2 separate regions of the Homo sapiens genome follow, and region 1 is linked to region 2. Evidence: promoter capture Hi-C in 16 types of primary human blood cells and fetal thymus (Javierre and others, 2016). All regions are on one chromosome and are shown on one strand. Each heading gives the region's core, a stretch centred on a gene start or on the middle of the fragment in contact. The rest is flanking DNA. Distances are from core to core; before and after follow the strand shown.

Region 1 (7,437 bases), core at 373-2,872, 1.3 Mb after region 2:
CCTATCTTGGGACCTTAATTACATCTGCAAAATCCCTTCACAGCAGAATCTAGGTTGCTGTTTGATTGAGTAAGTGGGAGAAGGCTCACAGATCCCAGAGGCAGGAAACCTTAGGGGCTTAGAATTCTGCCTACCACAAAGTGTTTTGGTTTTCCTGGATGAGCTGCATTGTTGATTGATCAATGTTTTTAGAGTCATCGAAATTGAGACTATATAAGCTTTCTCATTTCTGCTTTCATTTCTACTCTCTTGCTGTAAGCCTCTCCTTTGGTATGAAATTACCAACAATGATTTCAAAATAAAAATGGACTGTCAACTTCCAGCAAATTGAGCTTAGCCCTTTTTCTCATTTATTGTATAAACTGAAAGTGTAAAACAGGAATTGATACATAGATCATTTGGGGTTTTTCACTGACTCATTAGCAATGTCCAGGAATAAGTCTCCAGATGCAGAGATGTTTATAGAAGGCAGTACTTCTTACTCAAGGAACTCTAAGTGCTCACGGATGATGTGAGCCAACAGACAGTGCCTGCACTTTGAAGAAGGAGGGTTTGTGATATCTTGACGTCAAAGATCTGACTGAAATCTTTGGAATCAAGCCCATCTTTTCTGATTTCTAGCCTATTTTCCTTCCAATGGCACTGTCCTAAGGTTGTACAGCTTAGAAAATGTTAACCCAGTATTGTTTTCTTTACTTGCATGTGAGAGAAGAGAAGTCAAAGTCAAAAGCAGGCAGCTGGAAACCTCCAGGGGAAGGGATTCCCAGGGGTCCTTTATATTCCTTTCTCCCCAAGCAAAGCAGAGAGAGAAGCAGCACACATACCCTGTGGATTCTGGGTTTGGAAAGCATAGTTGTGTTGTTCATCTGGGCTGCTATAACAAAATACTATACACTGAATGGCTCATAAACCACAGAAATGTATTTCTCACAGTTCTGGTGGCTTGGAAGTCCAAAATCAAGGTGCCAGCAGATTTTGTGTCTGGTGAGAGCCTGTTACCTGGTTCATAGATGGCTGTCTTCACATGGCAGAAGGGACAAAGGACCTCTCTGGGATCTCTTTTAAAAGGGTGCTAATCCCATACATGAGGGCTACATCTCATCGCCTCCCAAAAGTCTCACCTCCAAATACCATCATGAGGAGAATTAGGTTTCAACATATAAATCTGGGGAGGACAGACATTCAGTCTATTGCAGGGGCCAACAACAGCCCCTCATCAAGAGGTGGCGCTACGGAGGACAATATAGCTGGCCCTCCATATCCACAGGTTCTGTATATACAGACTCAACCAACTGAGGGTGAAAAACACTAAAAAAATAATAATAATACACAATAAAAATAAAAATAATACAGTGTAACACATATTTACATAGCATTTACATTGTATTAGATATTATAAGTAATCTAAAGATGATTTAAACTATGGGAGGATGTGCATAGGTTACATACAAGTACTACATCATTTTATATTAGGGACTTAAGCATCCCCCAGATTTTGGTATCCTGGAGTCCTGGAAGCAATTTCTCCCCACCCCCCACAACTAGGGATGAAGGATGACTGTACTAATGATTCTGTTTCTTTGCAATTCTCCTTAGTACCTCCAAAGCTCTAGCAAGATCATCACACAGGAAACAACATCATTTTCTTAGCCCACTCACAGCACAGAGAACAATGAAGTAATGGCTGTAGACAAATCCAAGTGTCTGTTGCAACCTCAGGGTGAGGAGAGAAAATTGGTAGTGGTGTTGCTTCCTTTAGAGCTTAAAAGGCACAGCTGAGGTGACTACCCTTCACTCCATTTTTGCTAGCATATAATAAGCTCTGCTTTGCATTTTTGCTCCCATGGCATCATTTTTGAAATATGAATCATAAAAGCAGTGCATTTCTGCTATGCCTGCTGAGACTTGCTTTATCACCCTCCTATTTCAGCGTTAATAAAATGATGCTGTCATTCCAGCTGGGAGGTATTTTGATTTTTCCAGACAGAGAGCTGGCTGATCACATTGTGAGTGTGTGTGTGTGTGCATACTTGTGTGCATGTGCCTCCCTTCTGGGGCTGAGAAGGAAATTGTCTTACCTTAATAATAGATAAATGTATTTTGATGGTAGCTGATTACTAAGTTGAGACTTTCTGTAAAATCTTCTAGCATCATGGTAATTTACTAACAGACAAAGAAAATCCCTCAATAAAGGCATCATTAGCAAAAATCCTGTGCCACTAGCTTCTAAATAGATGCGTAAAGGTAGGGTAGTAGAGACCAGGAGTAAAATAAGAAGGTTGGAGTAAATGACCTCTAAGGGCCACTTTTATTTAAAGAAAATTCCAAGCATAACATTGGAAGACCTAGAGATGATGCTAAATGCCTGAAAAGGGAGAATATAAATTTAGGAAGGTAGTAAAAATTTTCTCAATGATAAAGGAACTTATGACTATGGGTATTTGCACGTGTATGTGTCTGCTGTGTCTTTAATATTGAGGGGAATTCTTTTTCTTAAATCTGAGAATGATGGCTTAGTTGATGGCAAAATGGAAAGGATGCGGGGACCAGCCAGGAGCCCAGGAGCAAGGCAGGCGTTTCCAGAAGATCTTGGCAGAAAGAGGCAGACCAAAGAAGCAGACTGGCCAGCCAGTGCCAGGTAGGGTGTGAGATTAACTACAGGTGGGTGGAGCACAGCCCACGCACTACAGAGGTCTGGGCAGTCATGAAATCCAAAGGGGCTGCTCAGGATAGTGGGTAGCAGGGACTGCACCTTCGAGGGTGAGGTTCAGAGGCAGGATTTGGGTTTCTTTTTTTTTTTTAAAGGATTAGCAAGAGAAAGCGCACAATCTAGAACAAATGAGATATCAACAAGAGTCACTGAAAAGGGACCTACGGACAGGCTGTTAGGGACTTGATCTTCAGGAATAAGACTGGCTACTAGAATCAAAGAAAAGGTTTGTGTAGGTCCAGTAGCAAGGCTGATTTGATGCTATCATGCTGAGAAACTCATACTCTGCTTTTCATTTTTGCGTTTTTAGTACCTCTAAAGCTTTTTACATTCTCCCCAACTATAGAGATACTCTAGGGCCTAAGTTGATCCTAGCCGGGCTAATCACCAAATCACAGAATTTGGCAGATGATTTCAAGAAGTTTAAAATGAGTCCCGTCCTCAAAGTGTTTATAATCTATTTGAGAAGAAAAGGTCAGCACACATGAGACAGAAATATGTCTACTGTGTCCATTTACTGTGTTATGTACAAGTCATAGGTATTAAGAAAAATAAAAATTAGTAAGTGCTGGAGAGGTCAAGGAAGGCTTCACCGAAGAGGGATGATTTGAGGGTTTAAATTTTTTCTGAGACAGGGTTTCACTCCATCGCCCAAGCTGTAATGCAGTGGTGTAATCACGGTTCACTGCAGCCTTGACCTCTCAAGATCAGTTGATCCTCCCGCCTCAGCCTCCTGGGTAGCCCCAGCTGGGATTGCAGATGCACACCACCATGCCCAGTTCATTTTTTATATTTTTTGTAGAGACAGGGTTTTGCCATGTTGCCCAGGCTGGTCTCGAACTCCTGAGCCCAAGGGATCTGCCCACCTGAACCTCTCAAAATGTTGGGATTACAGGCATTAGCCGCTGCACCTGGCCTGGCTTGAAGTTTTTTAAGTGAAGAAAAGCAGAATTGGGGCCCTGGGGGTGGGAGATGTTCATGGGGGTGGAGAGAAGAGAGTCAGAAATATCCTGAGATATTTTTCTCATCATTTTTACCCCAACAGGAATAGTTGAGCCTCTCAGTTCTGCAGGGGAAGCTGGTAGTGGAGCCACTAGTGAGCACTTATAAAGTAGATGATAAAGAAAGGAAGTGGAGTTTGCTTGATAAGAGAAGAACATGATTAGAATGGTTGTGTTGGTAGCTCCTGGACTCTTTCTCTGCGGCTATTTCAGTCCCCTAGCTAATCTGGCCCTGACTTATAGTAGTGCCAACTTCAAGCCTTCAGGGCATTTTATACAGCTTCCTGTCTATGCTTCCCACCCTTATCACTCCCTCCCCTTGTTTTCCTTCCATTTTTTTAAATGACTATTATTGAATCAAATTTTCCTATTAATTAAAACCCTTGGGATCTTGGAACCTTAGTCAACTTTCCCCTCGTATATGACATAATGATGTACATTGTGTTTCAATGGCTCTGGACACCATCGCTGATAGAATAGGTCACCTGTTTAGCGTAGTCAGGATGAATGTTGCCATCAAGATGACTGCTCTATATTGAAGAGTCTGAGTCAACTCAGCATATCCAACTATCTTCGTGACTTTTTTTTTTAAAAGAGTTTTAATGTATTCCTTTAGTACTGGCAGTTGCTTTTCCCAGTCTGCTGCTGCTGAAGAAATTCCTAATGGTTAATGTCAGATCCCAGGATACTGGCCTATAATGCTGAGAAAGGAAATAGTGTCAGAGAATCTTGGTTTTTAGCTGCTGTTTTACTCTGCAGGAGCAGAGAGAAATAGGAGCAGGGGTAATTTCTTTCCTTTAGCAGCTGCTGAAGTAGACCTGATATTTGGGTTGGAAAAGTATATCAACTCACCTCAATTTAGAGAAATTATTTTTTAACCTTAAGAAATTAACGTATGTATTGCATCACTGAGGAGGCTCTTCTGTGGGCTTGTAGCAGGAAAAATCTAGACACTCTATGGGGCTATGCTACAGACATGGTGGCCCATGCAAGGAACTGGCAGCTGTGGGAGACAATGACAATGATTGACACTTGCCTGGCAATTTACAGCATACTGTTTCAAACCTGATTTAATTCTCTCAGTAAGCCTGAGATAAAGGGGTCATTTTATGCATTCCACAGATGAGGAAATAGACTTGCTTTCTTAAGCAACAGGTAGTGAGTTACAATCCAGAAATGAACACAGTCTCTCTGAATCCCAATCCTACACCCTTCCCAGTAAACAGGTTCTATTCCACTGTATGGCATTCAGTTGTGAGACGTTTCACACAAGAATTCGTCATTAACAAAAGAATTATATTTGATGGTGATAATTTAGAATCATAAGTCAAGAGTCTCTCATTTTCTTGTATTGAAGTGCATTTTTTTTTTTTTTTGAGATGGAGTCTTGCTCTGTTGCCCAGGCTGGAGTGCAGTGGCACGATCTCGGCTCACTGCAACCTCCACCTCCCAGGTTCAAGTGATACTTTTGCCTCAGCTCCCCCTCAGAACTGGTAGCTGGGATTACAGGCATGCACCACCAAGCCTGGCTGATTTTTGTATGTTCAGTAGAGATGGGGATTTGCCATGTTGGCCAGGCTGGTCTTGAACTCCTGATCTCAGGGGATCCACCTGCCTCGGCCTCCGAAAGTGCTTAGATTACAGGTGAGAGCCACCGCGCCTGGCCTGAAGTGCATTTTTTGAGCAGAAAGAATAGGTCAAATTGCAGCAAGCTATCTGGGGAATCACACACATCAGTTATATCTGTGCAGTAGCACTAAAAGACCATGGCTGGTGGAGATAATAATAGTTTTTGTGATTATAAGTTATTGCCTTGCTTTCCTCCCTGGAAAATACTGGGTTTCACCAAAGTTTGAATCTGAGTTTTCCTATGACAGTGTGCCTGCTTGTGTGAATATCATCCATTTTGAGTATCTCCAAAAGACATCAGTGGAGAATGTGGCTCATCGTGCAGCCTTCCTGATAGATCTGACTATGGTAGTGCACATACTACATTTAAGCCCTGCTGTGTATCAAAGCTGGGTACTCAACCCTAACACATACCCTTCACTTATAATGAAACTTCTAATGGACTCTTGCTTATAGGGAAAGCTTGTATAACCAACTCTCAATTTTTATGTGTATGTAAGGTCAAAACTGCAGTGTTCTGTTAATGGTGATACCACTACAATGTCTGTAGATATAGGCAATAGAAAACTGAAGCACTCTTATGACACAAATACAGTGTAAACATTCTTGAAAAACTGGGAATTTGCTGCAGCATCACTCCTAGCCACTCCCCAGAAATTTGGAGGTTGGACAACCTAGTGTGATAGTAGAAACACTTGAAATGTTTGGGAGTCATTTTTACACAAACTTGTGCTGTTGCTTTTTTTTAAGGTTAAAAAAGGCATGTTTTGATGCAAGAACACAGGATATGAGTTCGCACTAAATAAAGATCTACATCTACACAATAGGTTTCAATGACGGGGAGGAGAAGAGATTTTTATCTTCCATGAGATACTCAGCAGTATCCGGAGACCTTCTTGATTTTCCCAACTTAGAGTGTTAAAGCTATTGGCATCTAGTGGGTAGAGGCTAGAGATGCTGTTGCTGTTAAACATCCTACAATGCCCAGCCTTTATCCCTGCAGTAAAGAATTATTCACCCCAAAATGTTAACAGGGCTGAGGTTAACGAAGCCCTAATCTATACTGACACTAAAATGTTAAGCACTTTGGTAGAAATTGTTATCTGATGCAGCTGAGCAAACTGCAATGGGGTTCTACAGAAGGGAAAAAAAGAGGGTTACTATAACCAGATATCCCCATGTCCTCAGATTCTGGGAGACAGTTTTGTTGTTGTTGTTGTTGTGGTTGTGGTGGTGGTTTTTGAGACGGAGTCTCGCTCTGTTGCTCAGGCTGGAGTGCAGTGGTGCGATTTCGGCTCACTGCAACCTCTGCCTCCCGTGTTCAAGCAATTCTCCTGTCTCCGCCTCCCGAGTAGCTGGAATTACAGGCATATGCCACTACGCCCGGCTAATTTTTGTATTTTTAGTAGAGATGGGGTTTCACCATGTTGGCCAGGCTGGTCTCAAACTCCTGACCTCAGGCGATCCCGCCCACCTCGGCCTCCCATAGTGCTGAGATGACAGGCATGAGCCTCTGCACCCAACCTGGGAGACAGTTTTGTTCAAGTCCCCCAGCCCGTGGTAGAAAGTTACTTACAATATTTCCTGTAGGTTTTTGGGTGACTTTGTTTTAGTTGTGGGCTGAGAGACTCTGCTTGATTCACTGCTACTGCCTGTTCCAAACTGCTGCTTTCAGCCCCTGCCTCTGCTGCCCTCCCCCCGACTCCCTGGACCATTCTGTTTCACTTTGGATATGATTTTTCTTTCTTCCTCCCTGAAAAATCCCTCTTACATATGCTTATTGTGGGTTGCAAACCATTGCTGATAGGTCAGGGTTGTTTTTTAATTTCTCAAGTCTTCCTCAGCAAAGGAAATTTCCTGCTGCCCTTGAACTTGTGTAGGATTTAGCTGGCCCATGGAGTGGCCAGAGTTCTCTACCCTCTTATATCTCAATCTTCTTTTTTAGATCCTTAGGCTATCTCTCTGAGCAGCCAGCTAAAACCCCACAAATTCCTATTTCTTTCTCATACAAACTAATTTAGCCTTCTTTGTTTCGCTCTCTTCTTGCTCGGCCCTGGGTGGAGTGGGAGTGGGATTACTGAAATAGGAACATCAAAG
Region 2 (7,446 bases), core at 4,600-7,099:
GTCTGAAGGAGGGAGCAACTCCATTCCTCTATGCACTGGCAGCTCAGAGCTAGCAAGGCCAATCATATAGCTCTGTCTTCTCACCATTAAATCACATGAAAATGAACCATCAGGGAGGGAATACAGTGTCCAATGACCAGGAGCTGTGTGTGTGTGTAGGTGTGTGTGTGTGTATATGTGTGTGTGTGTGTGTGTGTGTGTGTATGTGGGAGGGGTTTGTGGGCTGGCTCTGTCTAGAAAGGCCTCAGGCCCTAGGCTATCCCCAGTCCCTTCCTTCCTCCCTGCAGATTGTCTCCTAGAGTCACTGCCCAGCCCTTGGGCAAAGGGCAAGCAGCAGGTCATCAGGCTGGTTGGCACCAGGGGTGGGGGGGATCTGATATTCATTCATCTTCCACTGGGATACCATCTGGAGACATAGCAGGTGGATGCTCCCTTTCTACCTTGGCTTTTCCTTGTGTGAAAAATGGGGCCAACACTTTTACCAGTTAACCTGACCTGTATTAGGGAAAGAATGTTGTCAAAGACATGCTTCAGAAAAGCAGGTGGGGCTGGGTTGCCCTCTTATATGTATCTGCTAATTGGGCAGCCTCAAGTGCACATTTTCTAAGGCTAGGGTCAGAGTTGGGGTGGATAGGGAATCATAGCTGCTGCTGTGAATAGCCCAGATCTAAGCCCTGAACTCTGACCTCTACAAAGCTCCCTCCGACCAGTGGCCTGCAGGGATTGCGTCACCAAGCCTGGCTCTCACAGGCTCCTGACAAGCTGCAAGAAGGGTTGCCCCTGGTGATGGTGCAGGCTCACAAATTCAGATAACCTCCTGAGCCTAGATCTTCCTCCTCTGGAGTGGGAGTTGCTTCTCAGCTCCTGTTGGCCTAGCCCTGTACAGCCCACCCATTTTGGACTCTGACATTCTGCGGTGAGGGTGGCCTCACCTTCCACCTCCTCTGGGGTCAAATGGGTTTACCTTCACAGGGCTTTGAAAGCTGCCCAAGGAATCTTGAATCAAAACATGAAACTCATGCTAATTTCTATATGAGATCAGACAAGCTAGCAACCTTTCAGTGCCTCAACTTCCTTATAGGTAAAATTGGGGACAATAATGTCTCTTCGTTTTATGGGGATGTTGTAAAAAACTAGCTGGTATGCAAAAAAGCACTTTTTTAAAAAGCAAGAGATATATGAGGACAATTTCAATCTTTATTTGCTATTTTTATTAGGGGTGGGAGGAAGCACATGGTTTATTTGGGAAAGTGTGACCTTTGGAACAGACAAACAAGAATGAATTCTGCTTTTGCAACATACATACTTATGTGGTTTTGATATGTCAAAAAAAAAAATCTCTCTAAGCCTTGCTTGTAAAATGGTGTTAATGATAATTAACTTGGAGGACTGTTGCCAAAATTAGAGGTTACACGTATCAAGTCCCTACCAAGCACCTGACATACAGTAGGTGCTTTGTAAATAGTAGCTGTCATTACTACTATTGTATGTAATAACCATAGCAACTGAGATTCCATGTACTTATTCTGAACCTTTTCTCTCACTTTCAGAGAGCCAAACTCCTCTGTCCTGCCCTGCAAGCAGTAAAGGCACACACTCCTTGTTATATTCCTGGGAGATGAAAGGAATACTGTGCCTCCTGACTCTTATCATAGGAGTGACTACCTCATCCTGATTGGCCCAGGACTGTCCTAATTTTGGCACTGGAAGTCCCATGTGCCAGGAATCCCCTTAGTCCCAGGCAAACTGGGATGGCTGGCTATTCTACTCACCACCAACTGGGACTAATCTAACCCCCATGCCATATTCCAGCACCTAGATTTAGAGCAGAATATTAAGATTTGTGCTGGAAATTGGCCAGGTGTGGTGACTCACGCCTGTAATCCTAGCACTTTGGGAGGCAGAAGCAGGCTGATCACTGAGGTCAGGAGTTTGAGACCAGCCTGGCTAACGTGGTGAAACCCTGTCTCTACTAAAAATACAAAAATTAGCTGGGTGTGGGGGTACGCACCTATAGTCCCAGCTACTCGGGAGACTGAGACAGGAGAATCCCCTGAACCTGGGAGGCGGAGGTTGCAGTGAGCTCAGATCATGCCACTGCACTCCAGCCTGGGCGACAGAGCAAGACTCCGTCAAAAAAAAAAAAAAAAAAAAGATTTATGCTGGAAATCTGGAAGGACCCAGGAATATTAGCTCAAAGAGCCATCTTAAGTCCTTTTAGAATAAGGCAGGGTCTGAATTGAAAAGTGAAAATAAAAAATTAGCTCTGGTTTAAAATTGATTGTTAGGTGGAAGAAACAAAAAATCAATTATAAAGGCCACATATTTGTATGATTCTATTTATAGAGAGTGCTCAGAATAGGCAAATCTATAGAGACAGAAAGTAGATTGTTGGTTGCCTAGGGAGGGAGGCAGGGAAGGTGGTAGGGAGGGAGGAAATGGTAGTGACTGCTGATGGGTATGGGAGTTTTTTTTAGGGTCATGAAAATGTTCTAAAATATTGTACGACTCTGTAAATATACTAAAAACCATTGAATTGTTCACTCTAAATGTACAATTGTACATGTGCAAATTTGTACAATTTGTAAAGTTATACAAAATAAATACAAATTTAAACTGTGAATTGCTGGTATGTGAATATCTCAATAAAGCTGTTAATTAATTAATTAATTTATTTAAGACACAGTCTCACTCTGTCGCCCAGGCTGGAGTGCAGTGGCGCAATCTCAGCTCATTGCAGCCTCTGCCTCCCAGGTTCAAGCAATTCTTGTGACTAGCCTCCCACATAGCTGGGATTACAGGCGTGCACCACCACGCCAGGCTAATTTTTATATTTTTAGTAGAGACGAGGTTTTGCCATGTTGGCCAGGCTGGTCTTGAACTTCTGGCCTCAAATGATCAGCCTGCCTCAGCTTCCCAAAATGCTGGGGTTACAGGTGTGAGAAAGCTGTTAAATTAAAAAAAAATCTTAAAAATTTTAAAGAATTTTATTTAAAAAAATCTATGATCCCTCCCACTTGAGAATGTCTAAGTCTAAATTATTCTTAACCTTCATCTTGTGAGATCTTTTCAATGGCAGAAAGATAATATTCACCCCAGGCCAGGAAGTACCATTCCATTTTGCGGGTGAGAAGAGCAAGGCCTATACGTAGAATGTAACAGGGGCTTTTCGTCAGCTGTACTGAAGAGGCCAGTGGAACTTCAGATAGGAGGGGATGAGAAGACAGGAAAGGCTGGTGAGCTGACATTTATAAAGGGAGGAGACTTGACCCTGATTCTGGCAATTCAAAGCAGAAGGAAATGGAAGCTAATCCCAGCTGTAACCCAGCTACTCGGGAGACTGAGGCAGGAGAATCCCCTGAACCCGGGAGGCGGAGGTTGCAGTGAGCTCAGATCATGCCACTGCACTCCAGCCTGGGCGACAGAGCAAGACTCCGTCAAAATAAATAAATAAATAATTAAATATTTAAAATGTTTAAAAATTTTAATTTAATACTTTTCTGTGGCACTTTGGGGCTCAACCAAAGTGCCACAGAAAAGTAGAAGCAGCAGCCTTGGGAAGATTCTGAAGGGTAAGTAGAGAAGGCCTTCAAGATTGAGGAAACAGCATGGGCACCTGGTTTGTGACAGGAATGGCTTGTTAGAGACCAGCAGGTGGTATGGGGAGGCTGGAGTGGGGTGTGTGGAGGGATGGAGAGCATTTGGGCCGGACTGTGGACAGCACAGGATACTACAGTCCTTGCTGATGACTTTGAGTTCATTCTGTGGACCCTGAAGGTCTGGGAGAGGATTTTTTTTTTTTGAGACAGTCTCACTCTGTCACCCAGGCTGGAATGCAATGGCACGATCTCGGCTCACTGCAACCTCTGCTTCCTGAGTTCAAGCAATTCTCCTGCCTCAGGCTCCTGAATAGCTAGGATTACAGGCATGTGCCACCACGCCTGGCTAATTTTTGTATTTTTAGTAGAGAAGGGGTTTCGCCATGTTGTCCAGGCTGGTCTCAAACTCCTGACTTCGTGATCTGCCTGCCTTAGCCTCCCAAAGTGCTGGGATTACAGGCGTGAGCTACCGCGCCCGACTGAGGATTTTTGGGTAGTGATGGACAGATCTGCATAGGGTCTCACAAGGGATTTTATAAGGTGGCAGTTCTTGTATGAAGTTACTGAGCCTCTTAATGGCCAAACTGACTTCAGTGCACAGCCAGGGGCTCAGTTACTTTGGCAGTTGATCTGACCTGAACCATCCATGCCTGCTTTCTTCCCTTTCCTTTCTTTCTTTTTCTCCTTCCTCCATTCATCTTCTCCAATTCTTCCTCCATCCCTTTCCCTTGCTTCCTTCCCCCTTGTCCCCTCCCTGAGCCTTGGGTCTGCCTGGCATGTTCCTGCTGCCCACACTGATTTGGTTGTGCTCTGAGGCAGACCCAGGTAGTTCTGAATTGTGCTTTTCAATCTTCTAGTGGTCTGGGCAGTGTGGCCCCAAATGAGCAGGAAGGGAGGGGTGCCCATCTTCTCTAATGAGTCTGGACCCAAGAAGGCAAGGAAGAAAGAAGGCAGAACAAGGATAGACTTATGAAAAAGGCATTATAGCAACGAGCCACAGGTTGCTGTGGGGCCCAGAAGGGAAGGGTTCTTTTGGGGATGGGTCTGTGTGCATGGGGAGGAGCATCCTGTTTATTTGGTTCAAGCTACTTCACAAGGACATGCCCTGTTAATTCACAGTGCTTTTCCCGAAAGCCTACTAGAACTAGGCCTGGTGAGAGGCCCTGAGAAGGTGTATCCTTTTGTCCAAGAGCATCTGGGAGAAGAGGCCTGCCTGACCCAAGCTGCAGCAAAGACACAAGTCTGTAGGTCCAGATGTGGACTCTACCACTGATTTACAAGTAGGAGTTCCTTAACACTTATGGAGGACCTCTGAGACCGACACGGTGCAAGGCCCTGGGGTACAAAGATAAAAAGCCAGAGTCCTCCCCATCAAGGCGCCACGGGCCCTGTAAACACATAAACCGAGGACACACTGCATGAGAGATCACCAATAAACGATGTAGCCATACAGTGCACAAACTGCTCACTCAGTATGTGCTAGAAAATAGCCCCAGAAGGCAAGGCTCAAGAGGGGAAATACAGTTAGGAATGTGGCAGGCTTCTAGCCCGGGCTCTGCCAGTCCTGGCTCTGAACTGCGGTTTTCTCAACCTTGAGATCCCTTGTGTGCTTTTAGTATGCTGAAGGATCACTCACTTCAGAATGCTAGTGAAAATACAGATTCCCAAGTCCGACCCCACTGAATCACAATGGCTGGAGGTCATTCGGGGCCCCGAATCTGCATTTTCACCCCCACCCACCCCCCGGGCAGCTTTAATGTTGGCAGGCTAGGAACCACAGTTCGGATTACTGCTTAACAGGGAGATAATAACCTGCTTCAGACGAGCTAGGTCAGACGAGCAATTCAAGAGCTAACAAGGCAACATGCGCCAAAAGCCTTGTAAACCTCAGGGCAGTACAATTCTTTGCAAATAATAGTAATTCAATCATGCAAATAATAATAATAGTAAACGAACTGGAGAGCGCACTGGAAACGCCGCATAGTCCAGCTGAGTCGGTGCCACCGCCCCATCCACTCCAGCGCAGAGGGACTGTCTCTTTAAGGACCCCCCACCTCCCCAACCGCGTCGCTTCTCCCTTGGGTACCTGGCCCGGCCGGCGGCGCGTGCGTGCAGGGCCTCCCGGCGGGGCGGTCGCGGCGGCGCGACGCCGGCGCCGTTGCGTGCGCGCCTGGCCCTGCCCCTTTCCCGCCCCTTCCCCGCCCCCTCCCCTCCGCGGGGCCTCCCCCGCCCGCGCGGTACAGCTGGGTCAGTGACGCGGGCGCTGCAGCCGTCGCTACCGCCGCGTTCTATTCTCCGAAGCCGGCGACCGCCCCACCTCCTCCCTCCCTCCCGCCCGCTTCCTCTGCCCACAGCGCCGGCCAGAGCGAGCTAGACAAGGGCACGCGGGGCCTCGCCTAGACCCGAGAAGACTGCGGGCGCGCGCAAGCGGCGGCGTGGAAGCTGTGAGCGCCCCCATCCCGGAGGTCTCCGCCGGCTCCCGGGTGAGTTGTCACCGCGGCCCGGGGGCGGCGGGGCCGGCATTGTGCCATCGACGCGCTCGGCCGGCTGTCAGGGGCGCGGGACCAGCGCGCACCGCCCAGGAGTGACGCTGGCCGGAGCCCGGGCCGGCTTCGGCGGCTCCCCGCGCTTCTCTGCGCCGGCCCGCTGTCACCCGGCCGCGAGCCGCGCCGCTGGGAGCCCCGCGCTGGCGTGGCGCGGCCAGCCGGCCAGCAGTGGGGGCTGCGCGGCCGGGGGGACCGGCGGCTGGTTTGCGGCCGGGAACTTGGTGACCCGCGGTCCGGGGCGCGCCGTCCCGCGTCGCTGCCCGGGCAGCACCGGAAGAGCCAGACGCCGTGCCGATGGGTGCAGAGGAGGTAGGCAGAGGCCCTCTGTGCCACTGTCATTACTGCCCTCAGCCCAGCAAAGCTGCGGGGCTTGCGCTGGGGCAGGGCTGGCTTAGAGAAGGTGGATTTCCTGAGGAAATCTCAGAGCCCGCCTGTGCGCACCGCGGCATTCGGGAGCCCCCGCGCCTCGGCTGCTCTTTAATCTCAAAAACTTCTCTTATTAACCAGGCTAAACTCCCCGAAACCAGCTATTTTCTTTCAAAAAGTAGGCACGTACATACAGACTTTCCTTTTTTCGCTTGGTTTTGAGACCCCAGCTATGAGTGTGGATCTGACTCTCCCTCATGGGAGTCGTGGCTGGGGAGCTGCTGAAGTGGAGAAAAGTTACCCTGGACGAATTTAGGAGCAGGAGGGGGAGGTGGTTATGGGGACAGCAAGACCCAGGAGCAAAGAGGCGTCAAAATAAAGTCTTGGGCTGGTTAAAGGGAAGTTGGCGTCTGGGCAAGGAGGCCTAAAGCTGTTGTTCCCACAGAATTTTCTTTCAGTGGCAGGCGACATGCTGGGCTTTGTTGCTCTCGCTAACTGGGCTCCTGTGTGCTCTTCCAGAGGTGCAGTAAGATTACTCAGTTCAATTAGGCCTAGGGATTTACTCCCTTTTTTGATCTACAGAGATGGGAAGTATGTCTTTCCTTCACAGTAGTTAATTCATTTCTTGCTGTTTTCGTTCCTCTGGTGTAAAAACATACATAGGAGTTACGCACACACACCTTTTCTGTTTTGGGAATTCCACACCCAAACTGTCACCATCTAGTGGAGGCTAGTAGAGACATGTGCTTGGCACTGACTTCTGAGTTCTCTGGGTTTTGTGTTTTTAGCTAGAAGCATATTCAACCAGAAATTAAAATTTTCCTGGAGTTGGGGGAGGTATGTCTACATCTCAGGAAAGAAGGTATTTAAGCAGCAATAATATGGAAAGGTTCTTGAGGACTTACTGAGTACCAACCTTTGTGCTAAGGGCTTTA

What was found. Contacts are between HindIII fragments. The CHiCAGO score rates a contact against its expected background, and 5 or more counts as called.
Region 1: a fragment that was not itself captured here is called in contact with the fragment with the promoter of SUSD6 in region 2 in 1 of 17 cell types (M1 macrophages); the score reaches 6.5 in M1 macrophages.

What each region holds. Positions count from the first base shown.
Region 1 is chr14:70,887,094-70,894,530 of GRCh38, forward strand. No RefSeq gene overlaps it. Among named protein-coding and RNA genes, the nearest start is that of PCNX1, 17 kb to the right of the region's middle. RefSeq lists enhancers at 211-520, 7,005-7,164. The HindIII fragment of the contact is 2,813 bases long and covers 217-3,029 here.
Region 2 is chr14:69,605,747-69,613,192 of GRCh38, forward strand. It overlaps SUSD6 (sushi domain containing 6), which reads left to right and starts at 5,850. Exons shown (of 6, transcript NM_014734.4): 1 at 5,850-6,082. RefSeq lists a silencer at 5,599-6,368. The HindIII fragment of the contact is 10,737 bases long and covers 1-7,446 here.